Linked DNA regions of Homo sapiens: region 1 is linked to region 2. Evidence: promoter capture Hi-C in human tissues and cell types (Jung and others, 2019). All regions are on one chromosome and are shown on one strand. Each heading gives the region's core, a stretch centred on a gene start or on the middle of the fragment in contact. The rest is flanking DNA. Distances are from core to core; before and after follow the strand shown.

Region 1 (2,845 bases), core at 61-2,560, 98 kb before region 2:
GATCTAACTGTTTTCCTTTGGGGACACTTGTTGACTCAAACACTGCCTCCTCCTGGAAGCCTTCCTTTACCCCACACCTCCCAGGATGGGAGGCCCCATCCTGGCCCTCTGTGGGGGCCAACGTGCACACCTGTAGTACAGCATTGATCACTCTGAGTGGATGTAGCTGGATTCCTCTCCCCACTACCTTCCGCATGTGATCCCTGAGGGCTGGGACTGTATCTCTTCTTTCTCCAAACCTTCCCACCATTAGCAGAATGCCTGGACCAGCATGAAAGCTGAAGGAGCATGGGGCTGTTGAGTGACCTCATCCTGATTTCCTGTGTGGGGCCCTGGAATGATCCACCACATACAGAGAACCCATCCGCGGGCCCTGCTGGCCAAAAGTTGCTGACTGCAAGCCTGGGGTTCTCTTGAAGCCTTGAGCCTTTGAACATGAGGTTTAGGTTCATGCCCAAATTCCTCGCAAATCTGAACTCAAGTCTCTACACACATATGAGTAACCAAAACCCAAGCTCCAGTGACCCCAAACTGTGCTTCTCCACTAAAGGAAGAAAGGAAGGAAAAAATGAAGGGAAGGCAAGGAAGGAAAAAAGGAAGGGAAGGCAAGAAGGAAGGAAGGAAAGGGAAGGAAAGGGAAGGAGGGATGGAAGCAAGGAAGGAAGAAAGGAACGAAGGAAGATTACATAGAGGGGGAATAAAAAAGAAATGAAAAGCTTTCAGAAAGACTCCAGCAAAGCAAATAAACATGATTATAAGCTCAAAAAAGGCTTTATTTCAGATTTAAAGCATGCTGGCTGTCCTTGGAGCTTGTCTTTAGACCTTTCCCCCAAAAGTTGAATGTGGCTAAAGAAACAGGTAGTGCAAGAAGGGAGCATGTCCATACACAACATCTGGAAAGTATGACTCCAAAGTGAGGTTATGTAACTGGAAGCTGAAGGCAGCATCAAGCTCTGTTTATATGCTTGCTGCCCTGAATGACTGCAGCACAGATAATGACTGTCTCAGCAAGGCTTCATAGGCTGCAGACATCTATGAGGAAGAACAGTGGCTGGAGCAGTAAGTTTCCTTCCCAGGTAGCCGCAGGTCAGTCCTGAAGCAACCCGGACCTTCCAGAGAACTGGCCTGGACCAGAGAATAGACAGTCCTCATGGAATTCCTGCCCTGATATTGAGCTTCTCATTTCTCAAGCTCTCATTCAGAGCCTTATTGATTTTTATTTCATACACCAGGTTTAAAAATGGAAGAGAAAATTAATATTTACTGAACATACACTAGCTCAGCACTTGTCCAAGTCTTCTGTGCACATGACCACCTGGGAACTTTTGAAATTCATGGTCAGACTCAGTGCATTTTCCTGGTGGGGGCTGAGCTTCTGTGTGGCCAATAAGCTCTCAGTCTTGCTGATGCCTCTGGGCCTGAGGCCACACTCTGAGTAGCAAGGGTTTAGAATGTGGCAGAAACATGTTAGAAGGGGTAATGTGAAAGCAAGGGTCTATCGGTTCAAGAAAATGAAAAATCAGTTATTAGATGTCATGACACCTAGGTGAAGTAGCCAGAAGATGGAATGAACTCCACGAAGACACCAGGCACCATCTCCCAGGGCTGCCTCCAATGTCAAGTCCGGCTCTGCTCAGGCCCATTGTGCCTGCTGGACTCTTTTCACTGTGCAGGATGGGGACTCAGGCTGGTCGGACACTGATAGCAGGAAGAGTGTGATGCTTTGCCGCCCTGACCTGTCCCAATGACCCAGAGTCACTCCTGGGGCGTGAAAGCTTGGAGCACAGACTGGAAGCCCAGCTCTCCCAGGGTGCAAGGAGGAGTCCCTTGTCTTCACATTCCCCCAAATGATGATTCTATGTTGGTATGTGGATGGGTAAGAAATGAACAATAAAGGGCCATCTCAAATTAAGCTGCCACACAGAGAAGAAGCTTGCAAAAAGTTCCAACTCTCTTTTTGAAGGCCACTTCTCATGATGCTTAGAACCCCTCATCCTTCCAGAAAACTGAAGCTTTGACAAACTAAAGTTAACATCTTGTTATCCCTCCCAAAGAGGAGAAAAAATAGAAGCTCTAGGCCAGCGTTTTCCAAAATTCAGTGTGCATAGGTACCACCTGGGGAGCTAGTTAATATGCAGATTCTGATTCCATAGGTCTGGTAGGTTTGGGTGGAGTATGAGATTCTACATTTCTAACAAGCTTCCAAGAGGTGTTGACACTTCCAGGCTGGTCCCTGGACCACACTGAGTAGCAGAAGGCAAGAGAACATGCTAACCACCTGGTTTGGCCCTTAATATACATTAGCTAATTTAATGAACTGGTAATGTCATCAGGTCAAGCACAGATCCTTTATCTGATAGATGAGGAAGCCCATATTCAGTGAAGTTAGGAAAGCTGATCAAGTTCTGCAGCAAGAAAATGAGAGGAACTGGATTTCAAGTCTGATCTGCCTGACACTAAAGTTTATGTTCTAACCATAGATCTGCTGTCGGGATGAAACTTTAGAAGATCTGAGGGTGTGAAAGTTTTAAAGGTAGACAAACCTAGGAAGTAGTGGAAGTGACAGTGGACACAGTGACAACAAAAAAGGAGGCCCTGGTCTGAATTACAAGACGGTAAAATAACATATGTCCTCCACGAATCCATGGCTTCAATTTATCACTAGAATGTCCAATCCACATTCCGTGCACTGTGACTCACAGACAAGAACGTATTAAATTTACTTAGAAAGATATCAATCAAATGCTTATCACTTTTCAAAATGGCCTGGCGTTTGCAGAGATGTTTCATTTAGTTCATTCAACCACATTCTGCAGACATTTGTCGAGTTCCTAGATGTGGAGGG
Region 2 (3,041 bases), core at 279-2,778:
AAGACTGAATGAAGACTGACGCCTGTTTCACTTCCCCACCAAGCAGGAGACCAGCCAAGCTGGGGGAGATCCCTTTTTAAATTCATGGCACCTTTGAAAATATTTTACGGTGACTATCAAAATGTCTTTATTCTGCACCTCATGACATCTTGCATTAGAGCTACGTCGACCTCAACACCACAGCACATACTTGTAACTGTTTTTTTGTTTGTTTGTTTTGTTTTGTTTTGTTTCTTTCTCACAACCCTTTACATGGCTGTTTTCCCACTAATCGTGCCACTTCCACGGCCGGGATATAAAACCATTTTACAACAGTTATTCTCCCATGTTTTTCCTTCATTTTATAGACAGCTGAATCCCAGGATCGAAGCTGTTTCAGCAGACAACTGTTGGGAGCACACAAGATCTATTTCAGCTCAAGAAAGGCCAAGGACAAAGACAAGACAAAAGTTGTGGGTTAAAGGGCAGACTTTGCGCAGAGCACCGGTAGAGGAGCGGACAGTGTGATGCGTGGTCCACTGCAAACCATTTCTTCCACAGCAGCAGCTCTGCAAAAGGGACCTCTGAGGAAGAATTCCCTGTCTTCCCAGTGAGTGGTCATTTTAGGAGAACAAGTCCCCTACTAGCCCATAGCTGGAGGGCCAACACTTTTTCTCTCCCTGAAGTTCCCGGCACCTGTTCTGAAAGGGGGTTGAAGAGCTCTCTACTCGGGCCATCCCGCCTGCTCTCTGGATGGAGAACATACGGACAACTGTGTGTTAAGCAGTCCCCTTGAATCCTTCAGCAAGCCAAGGAGTATACAGGTGGTCACCTGCACAGGTGCCGGGTCTACCACCACAACTTTATCCCTGGCCTTGGGGGCTGATGGAGAGTAAGACTCCCCACCACCGCCACCAGCAGTACCTCCAGCTCGCGAGTAAGCAGCGCACAGGCGGGCACAGGTAAATGTTCCCAGGGCGGCCAGACGCCTAAGCCTGCTGGCTGCTGGCGCTCAGGGTCCCCACCTCCATGCCTCTGCGTGGGGCAGGGGGAGTCCTCGTGCCTGGCATCCCACTCCCCCCGCCAACCCAGCCCGCTTATCCTGGGGCTCCGGCCGGGCCGCCCGAAGGAGCCCCGCGCCCAGCCCCGGGAGCCCCGAGCCGCCGGAGCCGCAGCGCCCACTCGGGGCAGGCAGCGTGCACTCACCCTTCTGCTCTCGCAGGCTCGACAGCGACCAGAGCAGCAGCGCCACCGAGGCCAGGAAGCAGAGCTGGCTCAGCAGAAGGTCCCTCCGGCGGCGGCGGCGGCGGCGGCGACGCGCGCGGTCCTCGTCGCCGGACGGCCGCATCCTCGGGCGGCCGGGCGGCGGCCTCGGCGGGCGGCGGCCGCTCCTGTCGCGGGCGGCCGCGGCGGGGACAGCGGCAGGAGGCAGCCCTGCGCGCAGCAGCCGCGCGTCCTCGCTGCGCTCCCACCCGGCCGCCGCCTCCGCCTCCTCTTCCTCCTCCTCGCCGCTGCCCGTCTCCTCGTCGTCGCCCTCCTCGTCGCTATCGCCCAGTCCCTCCTCCCCTCCCTCCTCCTCCTCCTCGCCGCTCGCCCGCGCCGCCGCCTCCCGGCGCTCGGGGTCCCGCTCCTCCTCGCGCGCCATGGCTCCCACGCTCCGCGCCCGCGCTCGGCCTGGGGCGGCGGCGCGGCGGGGGCGGCGGGGGCGGCCGGGAGGCGGGGGCGGAGGGGGCAGAGGAGGAGGAGCGGGGAAGGACCGACGGTAGGAGGGCCCGCCGCTGGCCAACTCCGCCGGTTGGCAAAGCCACCCCGGACTGGCTCTGGCCTCGCCGGCTGCAGGAGCGCCTCGCGGGGCCGCCCGCCTATTCCATGGTCGGCGCGATGGGGGCCGGGGCCGGGCCGGAGCGAACAGGGAGCACCGAGCGAGCTGGGAGCATGAGCTAGCGCAGCTCCCGGCAGCCTGCAGCGGCGAGGCTGGTCGGGCCAGGGTTGGCGGGGGGCAGTGCCTGGGACACAGCCCGGCGCTGGCCGGCATGGCGGGGAGGGGGCGCGCTGGGAGGAGACTGGGCTGGGGAGGGATCCCTGTGTGCAGTCCTTCAACCCTTCTGTGCCAGGGGAAGAGGGACGGCGCAGGGGGCCCCCTCTCGGGAAGCACACACGCTGCCTCCCAGAGGCCGATCTTCACCAAGAAGGATTCGCTGGAAACTTTCGGAAAACCGAGGGGCTCTTCAGCCTCCTCTCTACGTGCTACCTGGAGTCGGGGCGCCGCGAGTGCGCTTGGCTGCCCGCGCCCAGCCTCTGGCCTCGCCTCTTCTCGCGGGCCTCCCGGGTTTCCCTCTGCCCCCTTGCGGGGATCCCCCTGTGCGCCCGACTCGGGATCTGGAACAGGCCTCCCCAGAGGCTGTTAGTTCCATAAGGGTGTCCGGCTCCCCCCTCTGTCTTGGGCTCACACTTCGCTTTCTGTTCGTGCTGGACCAAGTCCAATACTGTGGCTGATCGAAGTGGGGACAGCTGGCACGGTCCCTGGAGAGGCGGCCTGAAGAGGCTTCTGGCCTTGTGCAGGTAACACCAGCCTGCCCTACCTCCAACGTTAGAATCTTAGTCCTCCCATTTCCCCCATTCTAGGTCTCCTGCCCCTCCTTGCTGAAGGTGTGGGCTGCCCTAGAGATGGCTGGACTCACGACCTGCCGCAGGTGCCCATTTGGAGGGGATCCCTGGCCATCCCAGACACAGCCCACTCTCCCTCATTGGGCTTCCCTGGACTCTTCCCAGATGCTAGCCTGGGGCTGCTGGCTGGGCTGAGGAGGAGATGCCATTGTTGGGGCGGAGGGTGGGGGGGCGCTGAAAACAAAAGACCTTGTCCAGAAAGGGATCACCTGAAACCAGGTGTCTGTCTAGGTGACTGTCTCCATGGAATCCATTCAGATCAGGGAATCTAGCTTCATACCCTAAGGAGGTGGGAAGGAAGCAGAGAACCTCTGTATAAGGCTCCCCTGTCTAGGTCTGTTCAAATGTGTCCCCACCTGTGACTGACCTACCCCCCCCGACCTCCTCCCAGACAA

The links. The method cuts DNA at HindIII sites, captures the fragments that hold promoters and counts their contacts. A contact is called where the count stands out against the background at its distance.
Region 1: a fragment that was not itself captured here is called in contact with the fragment with the promoter of SLC24A3 in region 2 in 2 of the 25 tissues and cell types used here (bladder and pancreas).

The regions. Positions count from the first base shown.
Region 1 is chr20:19,308,820-19,311,664 of GRCh38, reverse strand. All of the region lies in intron 2 of SLC24A3 (solute carrier family 24 member 3), which reads right to left. Among named protein-coding and RNA genes, the nearest start is that of SLC24A3-AS1, 26 kb to the right of the region's middle. The HindIII fragment of the contact is 4,933 bases long and covers 1-2,845 here.
Region 2 is chr20:19,211,129-19,214,169 of GRCh38, reverse strand. SLC24A3 (solute carrier family 24 member 3) reads right to left here and starts at 1,528. Exons shown (of 17, transcript NM_020689.4): 1 at 1,186-1,528. The coding sequence starts at 1,327. It overlaps LOC101929547 (a long non-coding RNA gene), which reads left to right and starts at 1,702. Exons shown (of 3, transcript XR_007067549.1): 1 at 1,702-2,541. RefSeq lists a silencer at 1,128-1,177. The HindIII fragment of the contact is 12,474 bases long and covers 1-3,041 here.